2 separate regions of the Homo sapiens genome follow, and region 2 is linked to region 1. Evidence: promoter capture Hi-C in human tissues and cell types (Jung and others, 2019). All regions are on one chromosome and are shown on one strand. Each heading gives the region's core, a stretch centred on a gene start or on the middle of the fragment in contact. The rest is flanking DNA. Distances are from core to core; before and after follow the strand shown. Region 1 holds the start of UCK1 (uridine-cytidine kinase 1). Region 2 overlaps GTF3C4 (general transcription factor IIIC subunit 4).

Region 1 (4,510 bases), core at 919-3,418:
CTCAAAACGAACAAAAAAAACCCATAAAAGTCACTCTTCTTCACAATATGGGGAGTTGGGGACCAGCTAGAGGTTTGGGGCTGGCCCTCTGCTTGGTGGTGGTTGGGATGGTCCCATAGGGGAGCCACTGTGGCCCAGAGGCCTGAGCCGTGTGGGCCCGGGCCTTGTTTACTGGACTGTGGGCTTCCTGGGTGCTGGGCCTGCTCCCAGGGAGTGGCTCCTTCCCAAAGCGTCCCTTTGCCTTGGGAGCGGAACCACGCAATAGCCTGACTGGCCCTGGCAGCCCATGCCTTGTGGCCAGTCACCAGAGAGGGCACACGAGACCCAGGCCAGGGGTATCAGGGACAGCCCCTGGTCAGACTCTGCTAGTTTCCCTGCCTTTCGCTACGTGGCTGGACCACAGGGGAAGAAATGGCAAGAAACCGTGTCTAACTCTCCCTTGATACAAATTCAAAGTTGGCTTGGGGGATGGCCACCTTTGGGACACACACCTGGACAGATCTAAGCCAGCAGCGTGGCTGTTTGCTAGGCACTGTTCTGTGCCTGGGGCTTAATTTACAGAGGTACGGCTGAATGACCATGAGGAGAGGCCAAAGCCATCGCAAGATTGATCGCATTTCCTGAGAGAAGGGGCACCCATGCCATGCACGGTTCTCAGTAGAGAACCCCAGGTTTGGTCAGGAGGCAGAAGCAGGGGCGAGGGGAGAGCCCAGGCCTGAGGCTTTCTTGGGGTTTCCATGGAAAAGGCCTGGCAGGGCAGGGAAAGAGTTTAAAATTGGCTAGTTTGAGTAATTCTAGCAGGCTCTGGGCTGCAGAGTGGTCTCTAGTCACCTGATACCTGGCCCTGGGTGACTTAGGGCAGGGAGAATCTTGCCTCCAAAGGCGAGAATTAGATAAGGAGGTAGCTGGGGCTGTAGACTTGGGGTCTTTTTTTTTTTTTTTTTTTTTTTTGAGACAGAGTCTCACTCTTTCCCCCAGGCCGGAGTGCAGTAGCGTGATCTTGGCTCACTGCAAGCTCCACCTCCCGGGTTCACACCATTCTCCTGCCTCAGCCTCCCGAGTAGCTGGGACCACAGGCGCCCGCCACCATGCCCGGCTAATTTTTTGTATTTTTAGTAGAGACGGGGTTTCACCATGTTAGCCAGGATGGTCTCGATCTCCTGACCTCGTGATCCACCCGCCTCGGCCTCCCAAAGTGCTGGGATTACAGGTGTGAGCCACCGCGTCCGCCCGGGGTTGTCTGTTTTGTATATGAAAAGCATGCTCTGCCCCGAGCCTTAGCTATCTCTCTCTCTTTTTTATTTTTGAGACGGAGTCTTGCTCTGTGGCCCAGGCTGGAGTGCAGTGGCACCATCTCGGCTCACTGCAACCTCCACCTCCCGGGTTCAAGCGATTCTCCTGCCTCAGCCTCCCAAGTAGCTGGGATTACAGGCGCCCGCCACCACGCCCAGCTGATTTGTTGCATTTTTAGTAGAGGCGGGGTTTCACCGTGTTCGCCAGGATGGTCTCGATCTCCTGACCTCGTGATCTACCCGCCTCAGCCTCCAAAAGTGTTGGGATTACAGGCGTGAGCCACCGCGCCCGGCTGGAAATCCATAATTTCAATGGATCAGAATTTGCCTGTCACGTTCTCTGTGCCAGGCACGGAGCGGGGGGGCGGCAGGGATGGAACCCGGCACATGGGCCTCTGCCTCCTTGGCGCGCTGTAGGCGCGAGCCTAAAGTCATCAGGCGACAGCCCCCGCCACGTTCCGGGGCGCCCCGACGGCTCCAGCAGCGGGTGGGGTGGGAGGCGTCCGGACAGTCCGGAGGCCTCGATGGCCAAGAGGAGCCTGGGCTGGAGGGGGCCAGGCCCGGGGGCGGCCGGGGGAGGGCCCGGGACTGGCGCAGAGGCAGCGCGAGGCAGAGGCAAGCACTCGGACGAAGGCGCAGCCCCAGCCTCGGGGTGCGGAACGGGCACCTTCCGGGCCACTTGAGTCTGAGACCTTGTAGCCGGCTCGAGGCCCGGGCGCAGCAGTCCCTGCCAGCCAGCTTTCGGCGCAATGGGACGCGGGCGCTCCTGGTGTGCCGGCCTCGGGCCCTGCACCCTCACGCATGCGCGGCCCCCCCCCCCCCGGTGGACTACAACTCCCGGCGTGCCCCGCGCGCCTCCCGGAAGTGATCGCTCCGGTTGCCTCCGACCTCGGCGCTGGGCGGGCGCGCCGGGCCTGGGGAAGGGGCGGGCGCGGGGACCCGATGCGCGGGAGCGGAGGCCGAGATGGCTTCGGCGGGAGGCGAAGACTGCGAGAGCCCCGCGCCGGAGGCCGACCGTCCGCACCAGCGGCCCTTCCTGATAGGGGTGAGCGGCGGCACTGCCAGCGGGAAGGTAAGGGGCCGAGCGGGCCGGGGTCTCGCCTCTCGCCGGTGCCTACGGGCGGCCCGGTCCAGAGAGGAGACCCCAGCCCCGGCCGAGGGGCCCCCTGCCAGGCAGGGGCAGGGCGCGGGAGCGAAGGGGCTGCAGGCCGCGATGGGCCGGGGCGGGCTGGGGCGGGCGAGGGGTTGGGGCGCTGGGCCTCGGGGCTCCCCCACAGCCTCTCCGCCGGCCGGGCTCCTCGGAGCCCCAAGTCCGTGCTAACCCCGTTGGGCCCCCGCGGCCCTTCCGCTGAGACCATCCACACCTGTTGGTGTCCTCCCGCCTTCCGAGCATACCCCCCAGGGGGCGGGTGGGTCAGTGTCTCCAGAAGCCGGCCCCGTGCCTGTCACAGGACGAGCGGTTCCAGGCGGGAATCCCGCTTCTGTGTCTCCAGTCGACCGTGTGTGAGAAGATCATGGAGTTGCTGGGACAGAACGAGGTGGAACAGCGGCAGCGGAAGGTGGTCATCCTGAGCCAGGACAGGTTCTACAAGGTCCTGACGGCAGAGCAGAAGGCCAAGGCCTTGAAAGGACAGTACAATTTTGACCATCCAGGTAAATCGCGAGCCCAACGATGTGGGGAGGGCAGACCCCATTCTGGGCGGCCGCTAACCAGCTGCGCTTGGGCCCAAGGTTGGATGGATGCAGACCCGCTTGGGCTGTTCCCCCAACTCGCCACGCAGCCTGCAGTGGAGTTGGCTGCACAGTGAAGTCAGGGGAACTTTGCTGAGTTCTCTGGGCCCTGAGTGTCCCCCCAGGAGCGTGGTTGGAGCCAGTCAGGAAGCCTGTTGCACTGTGGGGAGCCCTGCCCTGCCCTGCCACAACTGTGATCCTGGAGAAATCCTCCCATCTTCCCTTCCCACGTTGGGGCCTTTAGGGCCCTCCACACACACCTCTGCCCACTGTGCCCTCCCGTGCTTTGGGGCAAAGTCCTCAGAGAGGCCAGTGTGGGAGGCGGTAGGTAAACTAGTGCTGGTGGCTTGAAGCTCCGGGCCAGGTAAACGGGCAGATGCGGCAGGGAGACACCTGCCACTGCTAGAAGATTCCACCCTGGCTGGCTGGCATGGTCAGCCTTTTCCCAAGGACTTGTGGGAAGAAGGCCTGCAAAGCCGCAGTCTAACCAGTTAGTCCCAGAAAGAGAGAGAAGCAGAGGCCCAGCCTACCCACCTCCCAGGAAGAGCTGATCAGAAAACCCCTGTGTTCCGGCATCTCAGGGGCACAGAGCTTGGGCAGTGGCACAGCCCGAGAACAGCAAGGACAGGGTCATCCTGTGGTCTGCAGGGCTGCAGAGGGCACTGTTGCTACCAAACATACACTGCCGTAGTCCTAGTCTACCTGTGCTAGGGTTCTCGGTGTCCCCAGCACCCAGCTGTGCTGACCCCAGAGCAGAGAGGGTTCCCTGCTGTCCGCTGCACGAGGGCATCTGCCTGTCTTGCCTTTGTCTCCAACCCTGCAGATGCCTTTGATAATGATTTGATGCACAGGACTCTGAAGAACATCGTGGAGGGCAAAACGGTGGAGGTGCCGACCTATGATTTTGTGACACACTCAAGGTAAGCAGGTGGTTCTAGGGAGGGCCGAGGAGAGGGGCCAGCTAGGACGTCCCCTCGGGCTCACACAGACCTGCCTGGCGGCAGGCCTCCCCCGGTTGGTTTCTGTGGGTCCCCCACCCCTTCCCACAGTCAGTGTCCCTGCAATGGAAGCTGACTGTGTGTGTGGCCTGGAGACCCTGTGTCTGCAGCAGAGCCCCTTTCCCCGTGCGCCCCTCAGGTTACCAGAGACCACGGTGGTCTACCCTGCGGACGTGGTTCTGTTTGAGGGCATCTTGGTGTTCTACAGCCAGGAGATCCGGGACATGTTCCACCTGCGCCTCTTCGTGGACACCGACTCCGACGTCAGGCTGTCTCGAAGAGGTAAGGCGGCCGCGGGCCTCCGTGCCTGCCTGGCCGAGGCTGGCGGCAGGTCCTGAGGTCTGAAGCACGCCTGCCCCTTGCCGCTGCAGTTCTCCGGGACGTGCGCCGAGGGAGGGACCTGGAGCAGATTCTGACGCAGTACACCACCTTCGTGAAGCCGGCCTTCGAGGAGTTCTGCCTGCCGGTACCTGTGCTCGCTGCTTCAGA
Region 2 (4,588 bases), core at 1,247-3,746, 1.2 Mb before region 1:
CATTTTTCTTTCCAACATGTAATCTGTGTTCTAAAGCAGAGGGAACTAAAGGAATGGAAACCAAGAGGGTGTCTGGGGGAAGGAAAGGCAAGAGAGAGAGGTCAGGAGCAGAAACGATGGAAAGATCCTGTGCCAATCAACCAGTGACCCTAATTCCTGTTTCCATTCCAGGAATTGCAGCAATTCACAAACTCTGAGGCAGTTTAACTGTTGCAGAGAAAAGATGCTCATAAAACCAGTATTGTAATTCTCTTAAGCACCAATAAGCATCAACTTCTTTTGCATCTTATTTGATACCATTATAATTACAAAATAATTGAAATATTTAATTATTGCCTTTTAATATTCTTTTTAACCTAATTAACGTGTTAAACTTGCTGGTAGGTCCAGCCTGCATACTTCAACATTAACATTCTCAAAAACTTCTTAGAGGGAAAAGCAGAAAAATGTCATATTCAACCATGAGCTTTGCCAGTGGCTCTAATAACTTCTGACATTGAAAAATAATTGGTAGTTTTGGCAGATATAATAGTAGGTAGAGATTGCTTGAAGTCTGCCTGGTGGACACACAGGGATTTCAGAATGAGTACCAAGCATAACAAGCTATCAATTTCTTACCTAGAATAATAAGAACAAATTAACCCCAGGCAGAGAAAATGTGATACCTATGTGGGTATCAGACTCCCCAAATGCAACCACGTTGTAGCTTAAAGGGTCTAATTGTATCGAATCTTTGCTCCTGTGCTTTACATGCAGCGCGGCAATAGCACTTCCACTATTTCTCCAGTTCCTGAAACAGTTATTACGGTCACAGCTGAAAGCAACTTGAAATCTACCAAATAAGATCAGGCAAATTTTAGGACGGTATAGAGGATGTAAGTTTGAATTGCAAGAGGCACCTGAAAAACGTCTGGTGCCATTCCCACTTTTCCAAGGTTGCACTGAGCAACACACTCCCATGAGGTATGCTGACCCTCAGAGAAATTCAGAAGCACTATTTGTGAGGCTGCCATTAACTCAAAATCTCCTGTTTCCCCAGCTCTGTAGCTTAACCTCCATGGGTGTGAGACAGGGACAAGGGCAGGGAAAGGCCTTCCAACTGGGTGTGTGGAAACCTGGGGGAGGCAGGTGGTGGCTAGATTTTAGGGTCTTAACAATGCCATTGGGTCCAGTCCCTGCAGTGAGTCCACGTTCTAGAAAAACTGTTGCCATGTTTACTCCTAGAGAGACATACAAAAAAATTTGGGAGATCCTCTCTAGTTACTCCCAATACATTTTCTCAAAAATGCACAACTGCTTTAAATAAAAACCTAAGTTTTAAATGGCAGCAGTCCAAAATTCCCTAGTAAGAACAAATCTCCACTGATTCTAATGGGGGGAGGGGAAGTGAAACTATGCCATAATGATTAAAACTGCAATAATTTTTTGACATGATCTCAATTTTTACTCTTATTTATTGTAAAGTGAAAAAACAGCTGCAGACACAAATGACTTCCACCATACAATGTTCTGAATTCTGTTACTCATGATTTCAATGCTGCTTGGTTTCTTTCTTGAAAATCAATAGTGGATAAACGCTCTTCTTGAAATTACCACCAAATGAGAAAAATAAGCAGAATAGCAAATACATGATTAAACATAGGAGACAAAACAGCAATTTGAATAGGAAACAGAAAACATTTCTGAGCAGACTGTTTAGAAGTGCCTCCAAGGGCTGGTCTGCACTACCTATCAATGCGGGGTGGGGGTGGGGAGGTTGCCGTCATGGTATCATCTAAGTACCAACATTTTTTTTCTTTTTTTTTTGAGGCAGTCTCCAGTCTTGCCCAGGCTGAAGTGCAGTGGTGCCACCTCGGCTGACTGCAGCTTCTGCCTCCTGGGTTGAAGTGATGCTCCTGCCTCAGCCTCCTGAGTAACTGAGATTACAGGCATGCGCCACCATGCCAGGCTAACTTTTGTATTTGTAGTAGAGACGGAGTCTCGCCATATTGCCCAGGCTGGTCTCGAACTCCTGGCCTCAAGTGACCCGTCTGCCTCGGCCTCCCAAAGTGCTGGGATTACAGGTGTGCACCACCACGCCTGGCTAATTTTTGTATTTTTAGTAGAGACACGGTTTCACCATGTTGGTTAGGCTGAACTCCTGACCTTGTGATCTGCCTGCCTTTGCTTCCCAAAGTGTTGAGAGTACAGGCATGAGCCACCAAGCCCAGCCCCATCTGAGACATCTTAACAGACCACTGGGTGGGTAGGGGTTGGGGGCAGAACCTGGATTCCAAATATCAAGGGACTGTGCAGAGGAAAGAAATTCCCAGGCTCTGTTCAACTTAATTGCACAAGCTTACAGCACCAGAGCTCAAGGGTCTCACTTCTGAGCTGTCCCTCTCTAGAAGTCTCCAGACAGACCCCTGGATACTAAATGAAACATCTGGAAATGTCAACATTAAAAATACTGAAAGTCTTATTACTAAAAGAGGAAAATATCTTTTTTTCCTCTGTGTACAAATAGCTCATCTAGGCTACCACAGTTAAGTCTGAAGCAGGGCTGTGGCGTGGGTGAACTACAGTATTTGACATCTTTATACGGATTAAGGAGTTGGGTCAGGAAACCTGATGACCCAGGAGAGAATGAAAAATAAGTCACAATTATTCATTATAATAGTCACCAGATCATTTGACACATTAAATTTTAGTCTTGGCTTCAACTTAAGAATATAGAGTTTTAGGAAAATGTTTTCCATATGCATAAAAAACAAGAATGGAGGGATGCAGACCAGCAGCTATTTTCTGAGAACAAAACATCAGCCCATGTGTTGCTTTACACTTTTAATCTCTGTTGGTACATCAGATGCCACGGACCAAGCAATTTAAGTTCTGGAGCCCGAAGGCAGTTCCAAACCAAAGCAAGGATTAAAACCTAACTCAACCCAGCAAGGTCCTTATCCAAGCTCTCTAGAAGAGACCATTCTGTTTCTAGAAATGACGGGACACTGTGTTCAAATTGCTTCTGTCAAGATACTTAAAAATAAGTAAGTGTTCCTCATTGGTTACAAAGCTGGGGCTAATGCTCATCTCAAAACGACTCCAACTCTCTGAGTCCAGCCATTTCAAAGGACATCCTTTAGTCTCTGGAAATGGAGAGTGCGATTCAGAAATGAGCTCCAGGGGCCCTCTTTACAATCACCAAGGACTTCTCTCCACTCGTGAGGGTCCGGCTTCCTCCAGTGCATCCTTCTCTTCAGGCTGGAGGAAGTTTTCTATGGCAGAGTTCATCATGCCCTTCCATCTTCCCGTCACTGATTATTTAGAAGACAGGAGAATCACAGAAAGGGCAGGGGCTTTGCAGTAACCTCTTAATCCAGTCGGGATCTGCAAAAGGAGGACAAGTGGTATCAACTGTTAGCTTCGGAAAAGACAGTCAAAAGGGATGAATACCGGACTGTAGCGTTGAGAGACGGGCATTCTGGTCCCACCTCTGCAATAAACCAGCTACATATCCCTAGACAAAGCACTTCACTTCTTTGGGCTTCGGTTTCTATCATTCCAAATGAGGCTGGACTAAACTTGTGGTTCACAAAGTTAAATGTAATGAAACAGGAAAATAAGGGTAATGAAGAATGTTTCATAAAGCTAAATTTATTCAATTTAAAGAAAGGAGTATATTCCGAGAATGTGTTCTTCATACATTGTTAATGTTAAAATATTCTCTCATAAAATTACAGTAATAGGAATTTTTAAAAAATGCTATGCCCTTGAGAAATAAAAATGCGGCAACACTGGTCAAATCCTCCTCGTCTTTCATCTATGAAAAACTCTACTCCAGTGCTCTTCTTAGATCCAGTAGCTTCTCATTCTTCTCAAAAGCTTTAAATGGCTAGACTCAAAGTCAATGGGTAAGATTTTTAAAGTTTCAATCTCTTCCAGATTTCCTGCCTAAGCAGCATATCCATTATCAATTGCAGTAAAAATTTAAAAGTTCCCAAAAATGTGTTTCAAAATAATCCATCAGGAGGAGGGAGGTGGGTGAGGGAACTACACATGAAACAGAAAAGGCCATGAGTCAATAATTTCTGAAGTGATGGGCACACAGTGGTTTATTATACCCTTCTCTTTCCTTTTGTGTATGATTGTTGTTTCCCTAATAAAAAGCTACAACAGAACACAAGGTATCAACATACCAACTTATGAGAATTAGAGAGCTTCTGCCAGTTTAGAGCAAAGCTCAAGAATTTATGTAGTTTTATATAGAATGCTGTTTGTTTCAGCTGAGAATAGAATATTCCCCTCAAAATACATATAAAATTGTATATTCTGTACCTAGTTAGCTCACTTGGTTAGAGTGCATTATTAACGTCAGGACAAAATCTGACATTTGCGTCATTATTAAATCACTAATTCCTGCCCACTCTACAATCTTATTTCCAGGTAGTTATCTCAGAAACGGATGACATTAGAACTATCAGGAAAGAGCACATAGACCAACCAGGAAAAAAACCCATCATGGCTACTGGAAGAATGACTCCAAGTGAATATCCTATTACTGGTTCAATAATGTCTTCGTATAAAGTATCATCCACAGAGTTTACATTCA

What was found. The method cuts DNA at HindIII sites, captures the fragments that hold promoters and counts their contacts. A contact is called where the count stands out against the background at its distance.
Region 2: a contact is called between a fragment that was not itself captured here and the fragment with the promoter of UCK1 in region 1, in 1 of the 25 tissues and cell types used here (hippocampus).

The regions. Positions count from the first base shown.
Region 1 is chr9:131,528,921-131,533,430 of GRCh38, reverse strand. UCK1 (uridine-cytidine kinase 1) reads left to right here and starts at 2,168. Exons shown (of 7, transcript NM_031432.5): 1 at 2,168-2,364; 2 at 2,786-2,945; 3 at 3,847-3,943; 4 at 4,161-4,303; 5 at 4,393-4,487. The coding sequence starts at 2,257. RefSeq lists silencers at 1,763-1,932, 2,073-2,432, 2,633-2,682 and enhancers at 2,098-3,011, 3,717-4,510. The HindIII fragment of the contact is 11,870 bases long and covers 1-4,510 here.
Region 2 is chr9:132,687,659-132,692,246 of GRCh38, reverse strand. GTF3C4 (general transcription factor IIIC subunit 4) reads right to left here. Exons shown (of 5, transcript NM_012204.4): 5 at 1-3,366. The coding sequence ends at 3,302. Among named protein-coding and RNA genes, the nearest start is that of GTF3C4, 19 kb to the right of the region's middle. The HindIII fragment of the contact is 5,405 bases long and covers 1-4,588 here.